Linked DNA regions of Homo sapiens: regions 1, 3, 4 and 5 are each linked to region 2. Evidence: promoter capture Hi-C in 16 types of primary human blood cells and fetal thymus (Javierre and others, 2016). All regions are on one chromosome and are shown on one strand. The core of a region is centred on a gene start or on the middle of the fragment in contact, and the rest is flanking DNA. Distances in the headings are between cores, read along the strand shown.

Region 1 (3,149 bases), core at 429-2,928, 3.1 Mb before region 2:
TGAGATTGTAATATAAGCTGCTGCCCAATTTCAGCTTTCATCCACATACTTGGGCAACCCATTCGTAAACTAAGCTCAGCCATTTTTTTTCTTTCTTTAGCTTATTGATCAAGACCACACCTCTGCTCCATATGGTCACCAATATGAGCTGAAGGAGTATTGATGCAACTCTAACAGTGATGTAAGAGTGTATGCTGTCTAATCCTATAGATTGATTGTGATCTTCTTTGTGCTTCATCCCAAATGTAATTCTTTTATCTTACGATGGATTACAGTTCAGCTTCCCAGAACTTATAACCTGGTGTGTCCAACAAGCCAATTTTTTTTTTTTTAGATGGAGTCTCGCTCTATCGCCCAGGCTGGAGTCAAGGTACATTTTGTTTTGTGTCACTTAGTGTCCCACAGTAAGCATTTCCTCTTTACCAGTAGCATTAGAAGGGCCATTTTTCGAAAGACTTGCAGCCTTCATCTAGATCCCCAGGCACCTGAACTGTGATTTTCCCACTGAGATTTCTATAAACTCCATACTACATCTTTTTCCACCACTGACACCTCTAACATCATAGGATCTGCCAGATCATATAGCCCATTGTCGAGGCTATTTTCACTACAGCTCAATCCTGCTGTAGAACCCTTTCCTGTGCCAGGCTGCAAAATTGTCAGCTTTTTATGTCACCTGGTTTATGGATGAGAAAAATATTTCTAGGTGTAGAGTATGTGGCTTACAGAACCCAAAGCAGCCTCCTAGGCGTTGTGCTTTTTCCTTTTTCATATTGGAGGTAAGATGCTGCCATTTGTCTTGTATTTTGGAGGGGATATCCTAGCACTCCTCTGAACAATGGGCCCTTAATGTCTTTAATAAAGAACCAGGTCCCTCCATGATTCTTCCAAGGGTTCATTTCTCACTCTCTGGAGCACAAACCTTGAGCATGCTAATAACCTCTCGCTAAACGTGTTTGATCAGCATGATGTCATGATGTAATGAATCAATATAATATTCTACAGGATTTCCAGATGATTCCTATCTCTTTGGACTGTAAGTGTGAGTAGGAAACTTAATATAGTCCTGGGGAAAAGTTTCAATGTATATTGATATTATATTTCATATGGACATGAACTATTTATTTCATATGGACATGAACTATTTTAAATTGTCTTGCTTGATTGGGATAGAAAAGAATGAATTCTCCAAACCGATAGCTGCATACCATATACCTGGAGCCATATTAGCCTGCTTTATCAATGATACTATGCTTGGCATGTCAATCGCAACCGGGGCTGCTACTTTGTTAAATTTTTGGTAGTCTACAATCATTCTTCTATTATAGTTCATCTAGTTTCTGCTAAGGCCAGACTGTTGAATTAAATGGAGATATGATGGAAACTATCAACCCTGCATCTTTTTTATTTTTTTGTTTGTATTTTATTTTTTATGTATATTTTATGGGTATCATTAATCTGCACCATTTTCTAGGCACATTATATTGTTTTAGATGTTGTCTCTTGGGCAAGAGAGGCAGTTTTAAAGACTTCTTTTTAGCTTTGCTCACTATGATAGCTCTTACTCCATAGGCCAAGAACAATACATGGAAGTTGCTCCAACTGTGAAATATGTCAGTCCCAATTAAACACCTGAAGATGGAGTAAATGTCCACTGGGTTGATTTGTGAACCCAGTGGACTCATTGTGAGCAGACTCTGAACAGACTCATGGACATGACTCATGGCCTCCGTATGCTTTCATTTCGAAAGGAGAGTCATGATGTTTCTTCAGATCTTTAGGTATCAGTGTTAATTCTGATCCTGTGTGCAATAGTTCTCAGGAAGTGTGGGTACTCCTTTTCCGAATGTACGGTCATTCAAGTATGTAGAAATGGATCTCTTTGGGGAAGGACTAGGGGAATCATTACATGTCATACTTGACTTGATATCACAGGATATTTCTTCCTGAGACCCAGACAAGTCTCGATAGCTTGACAACTGGCACAGATCCAGGAAGTGGGCAAGATATTGTGACTTTTTATTGGTGTGACCACCCTCAGCCCCCTGTTCATCCATTCTTTCCTTTAATTGCATGTATCAAGCAGCATCCTCATTGGAAGCCCATGTATTTTGCTCCTAGTGACACTATGTTTTATTAACTGTCTTCACAATTCTCTCTTAGCTGCTGCTCTGACATTGTTGGGCACAATGATAATTGTGACCCACCCCACCCCCAGCATTGAGGATTAAGTTTTACTTCAACCTCTCTTGCTCTTGGGCTCCATGATCCTCATTGTTACTAAGGAGCCAAGTTCTATGACAGCCTCTCCTACAGTCAGCACTGACCTGTTGAGAAGAGCCAGTGCTGGATGTCTTGGTGATGTTGGTGCCCCGCTTACTAGCAAATTCCTGATGACCTTGGGGAATGATGTGTCCTCATGGCCTCCTGTGGAAAATAATTTTTTCTAGTAGGCTTTCTGATCTCACATCCACTCCAGCATATCCGCTTTCCTGGTCCTCTTACTGCCTTCCTCCATTGTCCGCAATGACAATTTAGGCATTTCAGTTTTCCTCAGCATGGGCCATCACTTTCTCCAGGTGTCTAGAGGTACCCTAGCAGCAAATTTGCTCTACCTCCTCAGATCCTTTCCAGCGAGTTTAATCTTATATCCCAAGAGAGTGCCCCAATGTCAATAAATTCTTATTTATCTGGTATTATGTTCCAGTACTATTTACCAGTGAAGTATTTTAGCAGCTGGGCTACTATATTGTGCCAGGGACTAACTGTGCCCCATATGCCACCTGCAGTGGGCTCTTGTTTGTCATTCAGATAATGAGGGGTCCAGTGTCAAAGTCTCAACTTACCACTTGTTTTTTTTTTTTTGAATCATTCCTGGAATCACTGTATCAATTGGATCCTCTAAGAAGCAGATACTGAGATAGAAACAGGGGTGTCAAAAGTGTATTAGAAAGTAATACCTGTGAAAGGAAAAGACAGAAAGCAAGATTGAGCAGAAAAACTCAGCAGATCATGATGAAATCTGACAGGTCTTTGAAAGCCCAACAGAGAGGTCCAGAGTAAGGATTGCCTGTTAGAAGAGTCTTACATTGGGTGAAATTTTAGGCCATTTAATATAGTTTGGATGTTTGTCCCCTCCAAATGTCAGG
Region 2 (3,158 bases), core at 640-3,139:
ACTTATTTTTTTGATCATTATTATGATAAATATATGGATTGATTTATGGTTAGAGTTGTTTTTTGATGAGCCTGTGATTGTTGTTTAAATGATGCAAATAATCTCTTCAGTTTTTCATTTTAGGACATCCTGTAGATAGCCTGAGCTTATATATATATATATTTTTCTCTCTCTTTCTTTTTCTTTTCTTTTCTTTTTTTTTTTTTTTTTTTTTTTTGAGACAAGGTCTTACTCTGTTGCCCAGGCTGGAGTACAGTGGCATGATCATGGCTCACTGCAGCCTCAACCTCCTTAGCTCAGGTGATCCTCCCACCTCAGCCTCCCAGGTAGCTGAGACTACAGGCACGTGCCACCAAACCTGGCTAATTTTTTGTATTTTTTAGTGGAGTTGGGGTTTCATCATGTTGCCCAGGCTGGTCTCGAACTCCTGGGCTCAAGCAATCCACCCATTTTGGCCTCCCAAAGTGCTGGAATTACAGGCATGCGCCACTGTACTGGGCCTATTCCTTTTTCAAGAGGGAGAAGTTTGGTTTATATCTCAGTTTGCTCAGGCTGCTCTAACAAAATGCCATAAACTTTGTTGCTTAAACAACCGAAATATATTTTCTTACAGTTCTGGAGGCTGAGAAGTCCAAGATCAAGGTGCTGGCCTATTCAGTTCCTGCTGAAAGCTCTCTTCCTGGCTTGCAGACAGCCAGCTTCTCCTTATGTCCTCATACTGTCTTTCCTTGGTCCATATAGGGGAGCAGGCAGATTTCTTTCAGTTCTCCTGAAGCCACTAAACCCATCATGAGGACCCTACCCTAGGGTCTTAGTCTAATCCTAAATTACATCCCAAAAGTCCCATTTAAATACCATCACCTTGAGGTTTAAAGCTTTAACATATGCATTTTGAAGGGACAGAAATAGTCAATCCATAACAGTTGAATTTTTTTATGTCAGAAAGTTTCAACAACAACACAAATTTTAATATGTGGTATTGGAAGAAAAGTTTTCATAAGTGCAACTTCTTCATTTTATATATGTGTTTATACATTGTGTTGAAATTCATTTAAAATTACATTTACTTTAATAGGGGTTTGAAAAATTTCTCTTTAAAGGAATCTTGTGATTTCTTTTGCAAAACTTTTTTTTGGTAATCAGAATCATCGTTCTATAATTTATTTATCTGTTTTACAAATTTGGATGCTTACACAATTGATTTTCTTAATTCTTCGTATGGATGGACTTGCTGCAATTCTTATTTAGGATGTATATTTACTGTATGAAATGAAAATGTAGGCTGAAAGTCAGAAAATAAATAAATTTTAAGCTCTTGTCAATCTACATATATGAGCATAAATTTTAAAAAATATATCTTTTTTCCCAGTTTATTTAAATTGTTGCCTCACAAATACGCACAACAACTTTATCTAGTAAACGTTCCTCTTGCATTAACAGCAAAAGCAGAAGGTGTGAAGGATACAGGAAGCGAGAAATAACTTTTAACGTCTGCTCTAGCCCTCCTGGACTAGCCTAAAAGCAGACAGGCAGGAAAGGCTTTGGGACATAGGGTGATTTGCAAGGTGACTCCGCCGGTCTCTTTCAAGCGGGAGCGATACACAGGTCAGCCCGGATCGTCCATGGTCACTGCCGTAAGTGACACTAACAGAATATATCAGAAAATCACTGCCTTTAAAGAACCAGGACATATCATTCCTCTCTCCAACGAAGTCTTATATTTTACCATTCTGCGTGTATTAGAAAGCTAAATTTAAACAGCAACAATAAGAAATCTTCCCCAGTGGATCCCTCGAGCCTTTCGGGAAAATGCAGGTTTCTGGCTGACAGGAAGAAGAAACAGCATCCAATCGGCACTTGTGTCTCAATGACCAATCAAATTTCGCCTTACATTGCATCGCTGGGATAAACGGAGCTGGACGACTCAGTCTCTTGGTCTGTGGCTGCTGCGGTTACCTGGATGGGCGAGCACCTCTGAGGCTGGCTTTGTTACCTGGGCAATAAGGGACTAGCAGTTCAGCCGTTTTCTATGCCTGCTGGATTTGTTTGTATTTGTTCCCAGCCACTGCTCATGTAATGTACTCCCTTAACCAGGAAATTAAAGCATTCTCCCGGAATAATCTCAGGAAGCAATGCACCAGGGTGACAACGCTAACTGGAAAGAAAATTATAGAAACATGGAAAGATGCCAGAATTCATGTTGTGGAAGAAGTAGAGCCGAGCAGTGGGGGTGGTTGTGGTTATGTGCAGGACCTTAGCTCGGACCTGCAAGTTGGCGTTATTAAGCCATGGTTGCTCCTAGGTGAGTATATCGACTTGCCACTAGATCATTGAGTCCTTTTAGCCAGATTACGTTCTCATTTTCCCCCTTTATGCGTAATAGTCTGTATTATCAGCTATCCTGCCGAAAAGCTGAACTGTTTCCTTTTTTGGATATGGAACTTCCATTAGCCAGCTAGAGCCGTTTCTGCCTCACAGTGTACCCATAAGAAGCATAGATGCTATTCTCGTAGCACTTGGCACTGCATATTTGAATTTTAGAAAAGCTTTCTTCCCGTTTCTCTAACTTCTCTGGAGAATAACACATTGATGTTGTGTTTTCTTGGCTTATAAAAAATACAGCTTGAAAAAAAAGGAATGAAAAAAGAATGTTTGTATCAGGCAGAACTACAAGTGACAATGGTTAAAGTTATAGAAAAGTTAATACTCGAAATAGTCCTGTGCTTGCTGGCCTGCGCAGCTCTTACAGACCGTGCGGAATACATGCCTCCTGTGGCCACGTCTGTTCATGGTGTCTGTTTTTGGAGTGTTTAAGAGAAGGAGATCTTAAGATCTTATGATTTATTTCGTATTATGGAAATACTGAGCCCCTATACAAGCATAGTTCACAAATAGCAAATGAAGCAAGGTTATAAAAGTGCAAACTTGTTAATTTGGCAAGAATATGGTATGGTGTTCTTAAAAAAATAGTCAAGAATGTTTTCAAGTACGTCTGAATTATTTCTATTTATGAATAGAGAAATTAAGACTTGGAAAGACTAAATGACTTATCACTATGCAGCTAAGGCATTCTTGAATAGAGAGAAGACTGAGAAATAGCCCAGGTGCTGTTCACCTAGTGTCTTACTCCTTTGAGGAATCCTGTGAAGTAGGGATTA
Region 3 (2,966 bases), core at 340-2,839, 3.1 Mb before region 2:
TATAATCAAATAAAAATACAGTTCCCCCTTTACTGACTCCAAGGCCCAAAAAGTGATGTCCTGGTTTTAAATCCATGCAGTTGAAGAGAAAAAGAAGTTGAGTAGTTTGCTCTCCTGCCAAGTCCACTCACAGGCAGAACAGTTTCGAAAGCAGATGGAATTACTGGTCCCTATTCCTGCCCTGATCTCACCTCCTACAATTCTCCCCTTCTGATACCTGCTCCACTCTAGATTCTTTGCCTTTGCTGTTCCTTTTGCCAGGCACACTCTTTCCCCAGATATCGGCATAGTTAACTCTTACATTTTCAAGTCTCTGCTCAAATGGCTATCTTTTCAATGGGCCCTACTCATCCCTCTATTAAAAACTGCAACCCCTCAATGTTGAATCCCCCTACCCTTTTCTACTTCTTTTCTCCATAGGACAATTCTATTACTTAACATTCTAACATACTACATAACTTATCAAGTTTATAATTTATTTTATCTCCTCCCCACAACAACTATAATGTAAACTCCATGAAAATAAGGATTTGTTTTATTCACTATTTTGTTCAAAGTTCTTAGAACAATCACTATAACATCTAACAATCAATATAACACATATAAAACTATTTTGTTCAAAGTTCTTACAACCATCACTAGAACTCAATATGCATTTGTTAAATAAATGAACGCACACTGTCTAAAGTACAGCACAGAATAAAGAGACCATCCATCTATTCATAAGAAATATCCAAGAGGCTCACGTTGTAAACAGATATGCAGAAATTTCCCTGCACTGTTTGTTACTTGTTTTTCTTTTACATGTGATCATTCACATGATATATGCAGGCCCCTGACGCATGCATCCATGTGTATACACACACACACACGCGCACACACACGTACACACACTTCTGTATGTTCTCAACTGCCCTCTTGCACACTAATACTTCCATATAGCTAAGTATCTACATTTAAAATTGTTTAAGTTAGATGGATGTATTAGGTTGGTGCAAACAGTAATTGTGGTTTTTAAAATTGCAAAAACTGCAATTACTTTTGCACCAACCTAAGTGCCATTCTACTGTCTGGCTCTGATGTCCTAATTACATAAATGCATTTATATTTAAAGAATAGGTAATTGACTATAAGTTTACATCCTCCATTTTAAGTTTCAAACACTTACTTTTATCTGTGCCACACTACTTTTCATTTTCTGTTGCCAGTTGGTCCAATAAATCAAAGATGCTTCAAACTGGTCCAAATAACAAGTACCCAATGCTCTGAATTCCTTGACAGTTTACTTTTTCTGTCTGCAAACATCACCTATAAAATATACCAAAGAAAGCTTTATTAACACTAACAAAGTGTGAAAAATGATGATATATTTTTTCTATACAATGGACATTTGACCGCTTTATTTTTCTTAATCCATAAACAAATATAATAAAAATTGTAAAAATCCTTAAGTAGTTACACATAATAATGTATACCTAACACATACAAGTAGAAAAAAAATCCATGAACAAGAGAGCAAATAGAAGGTTTTATTCTAAGGACCAAGCGGAACAAAAGTTAATTTAAAAAGGGATGTCCTATAACTTTATTAAAAATGTTCTCATAGTGAGGGAGATACATACCTACATCATAAAATAGTAGTGTGATATTATTAAAAAAAACCTGAGGAAACGATAGAAGAGAAACTCTATATAAACTGAGTATAAAAATCCAATGTTTCTACACAGACTAAGAATGAAATACCCAATATCCTTGCAATAATGATCATTAAGAAATAAATTTAATCCACATAGAAATTTAAGGTGCTAAACTACAATAATTATGTCTCAATGTGATCTATTAATGGCACAAAGCTTCAGATATATGCACATATGAGAACTAAGTATTTAGCTCAGAATAAACCTAGTCATCAGCATTAAATCTAAAATCTTCAGATGTGTTTTAATACTCTAAGTAAGTTTTAGCAATTTCTGCAAGATGCTAAATTGATACTTATGTTCACAAAGAACTTGCATTCAAATATTTTATTGGAAGTACATATCTAAATGGTTTATAGTATAAGGCACTGAAATCCCAAAAATAAAATAGAAAATAAAAGGATTAAAAGATACAGAGAATGCAGAGAAAGCAACGTGCTTAGTAGCAAAATAACTGAATACAACTGGAAAAAAAAATTAATTTGAGTGTCAGAAAGGGTATAACAGATTATCTGGTCCAATTCCTTCTTTTAAAAGAGAACACTGAAAGCCAGATATCCTATTTCAATTATAATTATAATAATTAAATTATAATGCCAGCTAGACTTACAACTAGAAACCTACCATAAGGACACCCTGTTAAGTATTCCTTTCACTGGCACACACATACAAATAGTCTTGACATTATAAAGTGATACAGAGCGGCTGTCATTTAATGCAGATGGGGATGTATACGAATTACTAAGTCAAGAAATGTTTCTATTACAATGATTGGCATGGTGTCAAGGTTAGTAAAGGCAAACTTATCAATCTATAAAATATAACTACAATCTAAAGCACATCACTGCTTATGTACGAGGCTTACAGTTAAAGAGACAAATGTGTGTAACTTTACATAATACGCTTATTAACAGGCTCTTTCTTCAATTAGTTATTATTGCAGTTGTTTAGAAAGCTCAGCCTTGTTTTCAGCTGGCAAGTTGTCCCCCAATCTTTTCTTTATGTATCTTTTTAAAGTTTATCAGCACTTTGGGAGGCCGAGGTGGGTGGATCACAAGGTCAGGAGATTGACACCATCCTGGCAAACACAGTGAAACCCCGTCTCTACTGAAAAATTACAAAAAATTAGCCAGGCGTGGTGGCGGGCGCCTGTAGTCCCAGCTACTCCGGAGGCTGAGGTGGGAGAATGGCGTGAACCTGGGAGGCGGAGCTTGCAGTGAGCTGAGATCGTGCCACTGCACTCCAGCCTGGGCAACAGAGTGAGACTTC
Region 4 (3,256 bases), core at 283-2,782, 3.5 Mb after region 2:
TTTCTGAATGTTACTGAGTATCATTCATTTTGGTAACAACCTTTGCAGCAATACATAGATTAGATGCAGTTAATGGAAACTTTGTTAGTGGAGACATTATTTTATGTAGCAAGCTTAGTTTTATTTGTTGTTAGCAGTTACAGTGCTTTCTGTGAGACCTGGAGCACAGATTTTCCAACATGATAAAAATAATCATTATTTAGGCAACATTTACCAATTTCACATTCCATTTAGTCATTTTAGTCAGCATTATCTTTTTATTTATTGTTTTTAACCACAGGGGTGAATACCAAACGTTATCTTTAAACATTTTTGTTTCCAGATACTTTCAAGTGTATACCTTCATGAGACAGAACATTTTAGTTGCTCCCAAGGGTTCAATGTGAGATATAATTTGTAGAGAAATTCTAATGATTTTGAAAATATATGTCTTCAGTCAAAAATTAGCATTTAAATACTTCAGGCCAGGCACAGTGGCTCACACCTGTAATCCCAGCACCTTGGGAGGCCAAGATGGGCAGATTGTCTGAGCTCAGGAATTTGAGACCAACCTGGGCAACATGGTGAAACCCTGTCACTACAAAAAAATACAAAAATTAACCGGGCATGGTGGTGCACACCTGTAATCCTCGCTCTGCGGGAGGCTGAGATGAGAGGATTGCTTGGAAAGTTGAGGTTGCAGTGAATGGAGATTGTGCCACCACACTGTGGCCTGGGCGATAGAGAGAGACTGTCTCAGAAACAAAAACAAAATCAAAAACAACAAACAATAACAACAACAAAATAAAGTTGATGGCAGTGTTTTACAATGTTACTGTTAATTCTTCAGCAGTGCTCTGAGTTTAGTGTAAGATAAATGAGAGGCTGATAAACTTTAAGTGTTTTTTTTTTTTCCATGAAAAATGCAGTGATGTTGAACTCTTCATGATATTTGCTACTGCTGATTACAAACCAGGGTGACTAATCTTTGGCCAGTCATTATAATCAATGAATGTGTTATGACCTCACAGGTTTACATGACTTCACTCATAGACCTTTAATGATAAAGTAAAATTGAACTTGGGTTTGGTTGCATATAATATTTTGAAATATTCATCAGCAACTTTGTTACCGATAGACTACAGAGCTCTAGGTATAGGTAACTTAAAAAATGGAAACCAACCTTGAATTTTTTTCTTTTTTCTTTTTAAACAAAACGTATATAAACACAGGTTTTTACTTACTGAGCTTTTCAGATTTAACAAAAATTTATGTAAAATTTTGCTGAATTTTCTAGAAGGGCACTTTAAATTTAACAAGCATTGGAATCCAAGGTACTTGGGATGCCATTTCCAATATTACCAGTTGGATTTATTGTTATTTGGTATTACCATAAACTTTTAAAAGAAAAAAAGCCACATAATGAAAAAGTATTTGTCAATTCAAGAGCGCCTTTCTTCTGAGGGGAGAAGGATTTGTGAGGAGCAGTGGTTGTGACGTCCACTCCTGTTGCTTTTTCCAGTTTTGGTGTCCACATACCTTGGGGAAGCTGTAGAATTATTTTATGCCTAATTTTTCTCTTTATAGAAAATTATTATTGAATTATCTGCATAGTTCATAGTTTTGTTGTGAAAATTAATGAATCAATATTTATTAAAGGGAAGGACAAAGTACTAAGCAAAATGTTAAGGCGGCCCCTCAAAAAATCACTCCAGAAATGAGTCAGGTTCGAAGTAAAAATTCACAAATATAGTGATTTTCAAAATTATGAAAAAACATTCGCATTCTGTTTTTTTTTCTATAAGCATTTATTTATGCTATGTTGTAAAACTTACATAAAATTTAAAGATTGTATGCAGGCTAATAATTAGAGTCATACTTTTCTTGTGGAGACTAATTGGAAAAATTAAAAATTACATCCTAGGTTTAATTATAATGATGACATCTTATTTTGGTAAACATATTTTATAATTTGCTAAGCACTTATATCTCATTTCATTCTATAGCCCACACCACCGGGGGGAAGTAAGGGGAAGCAGATATACTCATTCTTACAGATGAGGAGGAAATGGAGGCAGAACCGTTTGCAGTCTAGTTATTTGAGTAGGTTGGTGTGAGTAGAGGGTAAGGAAGGGAAGGATCCGAAGACAGGGTGTAAAATTCAAATCCCACTTTTATTAATTCAAATATTGAATTTTTAAAGAAAATAACTGAACAATTTTAAAATTCATTCTTCAAATATATGTTATACAGTTCTCATTTTATGTATTTCTTTATTTTAAAATAATGCTATAATGAATGACACTGGATTCTTGCCTTTCCCCCCATTAAACGCTAATGGAGCCTTATCTTACAGTTGGCAATGTGTAGATGTGTATGCCTTAGAAGCAGAAGGTCCTTCAATGGTTCTCAGTCCTAACTTCATGTTTGCAATATCTGGAAAGCCTTTTAAATAAAACTCTTGCCCTGGCTGTATCTTAAATCTAAAAGTAGATCTCTGACTTGATATTCCAGTGGCCTGGCCTGTGAATCATTTCTCGTTGACTAGCCTGTCTTAACTCAATTTGACTAAAAAGTCTTCACCAAGAGATGTTAGTTGCACCTCTGTTTCTATTAATGCTGGCATCATTTTCTCTGTCACCTTGGAAATACTTTCATATTCCTCCCTCTCATGTTCTATTTTTCTGTGTTTCTCCTACTTCACCACCTTAATATCAGTCAGTGATTAGTCAACAGGCAGAAGCTCCTAGAAATTCTTCCTTTTTAAGGTTTTCTTGATTCCATCTCTGCTTTCTACTCCTTATTTCAGTGTAGTTATGACAAGCATAGTCAGTGGCACTCAGGTCCTCCCCCATCCCTCTGCCCATCATTTGGCTCTTAAACGTGCAGAACATCTTGTCTGTTTCTATTCATTTTATCTTTCTGTAACATCCTTTTTCATCCTGGTATTCTGTTGCAAAAATTTTCATAATAAAGCTTCCATTGCCAGCAAGAAAGTCCAAACCGCTTAACATGGATTAAGGTCACTTGCAATCTGTCCCAACCTGTGTGTATTTTTAAAACTTCATGTACCATTTCTACTCTTACCATTTTAACCCTTTTCACAACACTTTACAAAATGATGCCAGCTCATTTTTTATAAACTTCAGAGTAGCTCTGATTATATTGGCTGATTTTTCTCATCATAAATAATATACATGTATATTAGGGGACATAAAACTAGGCTATAATTTTGTTATTTAGAAAGCAAATCCTATATTACTTCTGATTAAGGACA
Region 5 (2,989 bases), core at 223-2,722, 3.4 Mb after region 2:
CCTCTCTCACAGAATTTTTGAAATCTTTTCTCATTTTGTGTTGTTAATCTGCATCATTGAAGAAGACGAAGTGCTATTTCGCGTCCAGAGCACAAGTAAATATATTAGCAACGTTTTCCTTTCCACATTGCCCATTTCCCATTCCCCACTATTACAAACCCACATTCCATGACAAGCAGCTGAGGCATCATCAGGGGAACTCAAAAGAAAAGGCACCTACAAATGTATGCATACACCTAGTTAAAGACATTTATCCTTGTAAGTGCCATCTATTAATTTTGTTCCTTTATTGTGTAATCTTGGACTTAGGGACAAATAGCACATCACCATTATTATTGGAAAAATCCCCAGATGTATCAGGGTGATCATAACATCTTGGCACAGAAGATTTTGTTAAATTCATATTCAAAAGATAAGATAAATACCAAAACTAAATATACTCTTATAGCACAAATGGGGCAAGAACTCTCAGCCAGCTCTAGTTCTCGCTCATCATCTTTTTTTATTCCAAGACCAAGTCTCGCTCCTTGCGCAGGCTGGAGTGCAGTGGCACAATCTCTGCTCACTGCAACCTCCCCCTCCTAGGTTCAAGCTACTCTCGTGCCTCAGCCTTCCAAGTAGCTGGGATTACAGGCATGTGCCACCACGCCCAGCTAATTTTTGTGTTTTTAGTAGATACGGGGTATTGCCATGTTGCCAAACTAGTCTCGAACTCCTGGGCTCAAGTGATTCACATTTGGCCCCCCAAAGTGCTGAGATTACAGGCGTGAGCCACTGCACCCGGCCACCATCGCTCATTTTTAAAAGCACATTTATTGAGCTCTTTCTAAGAGACAGGTTGCATTAGGCACCTGATGGGAGCCAAGGTTCCTGCTCCCATGAAGCTTATATTCTGGGACAAGAGATACCCAAGTAAGAAATGAAGACATAAAAACACAAAGTAATTACAAATTAAGATAAATCTAAAATTAAAGGAGTGAAACACATGATGACATAGATATTAACTAGGAGCAGAGGGTAGAAGTTGTTTAGATGTAGTGGTCAGGGATAACTGTTTAGAAGAATTGCCACCTGAGCTGCTATCTGTAGGATGAAAATGAGTCAGCCATGTGGAGACCTGTGGGAAGAATATATCCAAAAAGGGAACAAGGGAAACGATACCTTAAATACAATGTCATAATTACAAAAAAGACCCCTCAAAAATGCCAGTTATCAGCAGATGGCAGTATCCATATATGTAAGAAAAGAAATATAGGTCAATAGAGTTGGAAATATACACTTGTTTCAGATAGCCATGTCTTAAATTGGATGTCCAGTATGATTCATCCTAATGTGGAATGAGTAAGTAGCCGTATTTAAGCCAACTCAAGGCAAAATTACCAGGCCCTGTTGATACTCTACTACCCAAAAAGTTCTTCTCCCTAGGGTCCCTGCCACAGTTGCCTCTTTTCACTTTCCTCCCTAAACTTCTTTTTCTGTATTTACCTTTTAAACATTGTTCCTCACATTTTTATTCTTTTTTGGCTCTCTACAATCTTTTTCAAAGTAATCCATTCCCATTGGCCACCATGTTCTAAACTCTCTTCTGAGTTTACAAGTCAAATATATACCATTGGATTTTGCCACATAAATGACGCACTAGGACCATAAATTCAGCAGAGCCAAAACTGGATATGTTATTTCTTGCCCTGGCCACACATTCCAATCATTGCCTATGTAACCTCCCTGGCACCCACATTGATCACTTGCCCATGCTTGCCACCTGGATCCTCTTCTACTTTCTGACTTCTTCCCCTCAGCTCCCACATTCAGTCACCCAATCTCCTGATTTTATATTCTCCATATTTACTGGAGTAAGCTCATTTAGAAATTAATGTATCAATGCTGAATTCCTTACTTCTTTACACTATGACCTGAATTATATAGTAGTATCCACTAATTATGTGTTTACATGTGCCAAGTACTCTAATAAGTGACTGACATGCATTATATCATTTCGTCCTTCCAATAGCCCTATGAGCTAGGAACAGTATTATTCCTCTTTTATATATAAGAAGAGTAAAGCTTACCAGTGTCCAACAATTTGCCTAAAGTCACCTATATAAGTGGAAGGGAAGAAATTTAACCCACATATTTTGACTATAAAACATGACCTTTTATACAGTGTGTCATAAAAGAGAAATGGAAAATTAGCTTTCATAAGAAGAATCTAATTTGATAGTTCTTTTAGGAACAACTTTCCCACTTCAAAGGTTTTAGGATTCAAGGATAAATGACACTAAATCCAGCTATAAGGTGAGATGGTATTCAATCCATTAAAACAGTGGTTCTGAAATGTTTTCAGGTAGCAAATACCTGGAACTTGTGGTGTTATATGGAAAAATTTAAAATATATTAATAAATTTAATTTCACCAAAAAGACTGTAACATAAGACCATATTTTACATAAATGTCCCCACATTATTTTGAATATATAGGTTTTCCAGTCACATGAAATATTTGATCCATTACTGTTTCTTTTTTTTTTTAATCTGCTAGGTGAAAAATGCTAGCAATCTACTAATTTTTTAAGAATGACTATGAGGGAAAAAAGCTTAAAATTGAAAAAAAATATTTTTCTGTTAATTAGAAATACATCATCATTCAATTTAGTAGATCATCTTAGTCCAACCTACTGAACTCTTTCATATGAGCATAATTTGAGAACCACTAAAATATACATTTATTAAGCACCTATATTTAAGAAAATATGCAATGCGTTATGGGAAAACAATAAAATATCATGTCTCAGTTTACAAACTTACCGAGAAGAAAAAAAAATTCCTTACAGGGTTTTGATTTTGTCTTCTAAGACTATATAAATGTATGAAAAATGTTTACGCTTATTACAAGAAAATTAACTATTGTAGCTATGGAATAATCATCAATGCAAATTAAAACCTGTATATATGTATATGGGAGGTCTTCAAAGAAGTTATGAAATAGGGTG

What was found. Contacts are between HindIII fragments. The CHiCAGO score rates a contact against its expected background, and 5 or more counts as called.
Region 1: a contact is called between a fragment that was not itself captured here and the fragment with the promoter of DUSP19 in region 2, in 4 of 17 cell types (non-activated CD4 T cells, total CD4 T cells, activated CD4 T cells and 1 more). The highest score is 8.8, in non-activated CD4 T cells.
Region 3: a contact is called between a fragment that was not itself captured here and the fragment with the promoter of DUSP19 in region 2, in 1 of 17 cell types (total CD4 T cells). The highest score is 5.2, in total CD4 T cells.
Region 4: a fragment that was not itself captured here is called in contact with the fragment with the promoter of DUSP19 in region 2 in 1 of 17 cell types (non-activated CD4 T cells); the score reaches 10.5 in non-activated CD4 T cells.
Region 5: a contact is called between a fragment that was not itself captured here and the fragment with the promoter of DUSP19 in region 2, in 8 of 17 cell types (naive CD8 T cells, non-activated CD4 T cells, total B cells and 5 more). The highest score is 10.2, in naive CD8 T cells.

What each region holds. Positions count from the first base shown.
Region 1 is chr2:180,011,017-180,014,165 of GRCh38, forward strand. No RefSeq gene overlaps it. Among named protein-coding and RNA genes, the nearest start is that of CWC22, 5.3 kb to the left of the region's middle. The HindIII fragment of the contact is 3,469 bases long and covers 1-3,149 here.
Region 2 is chr2:183,076,858-183,080,015 of GRCh38, forward strand. DUSP19 (dual specificity phosphatase 19) reads left to right here and starts at 1,890. Exons shown (of 4, transcript NM_080876.4): 1 at 1,890-2,302. The coding sequence starts at 2,077. The HindIII fragment of the contact is 1,671 bases long and covers 874-2,544 here.
Region 3 is chr2:179,992,147-179,995,112 of GRCh38, forward strand. It overlaps CWC22 (CWC22 spliceosome associated protein), which reads right to left. Exons shown (of 20, transcript NM_020943.3): 2 at 1,169-1,308. The coding sequence starts at 1,195. Among named protein-coding and RNA genes, the nearest start is that of CWC22, 14 kb to the right of the region's middle. The HindIII fragment of the contact is 523 bases long and covers 1,329-1,851 here.
Region 4 is chr2:186,591,694-186,594,949 of GRCh38, forward strand. All of the region lies in intron 1 of ITGAV (integrin subunit alpha V), which reads left to right. Among named protein-coding and RNA genes, the nearest start is that of ITGAV, 3.3 kb to the left of the region's middle. The HindIII fragment of the contact is 2,842 bases long and covers 112-2,953 here.
Region 5 is chr2:186,479,477-186,482,465 of GRCh38, forward strand. The region is part of intron 1 of LOC105373785 (a long non-coding RNA gene); the gene reads right to left. Among named protein-coding and RNA genes, the nearest start is that of ZC3H15, 5.3 kb to the right of the region's middle. The HindIII fragment of the contact is 1,180 bases long and covers 883-2,062 here.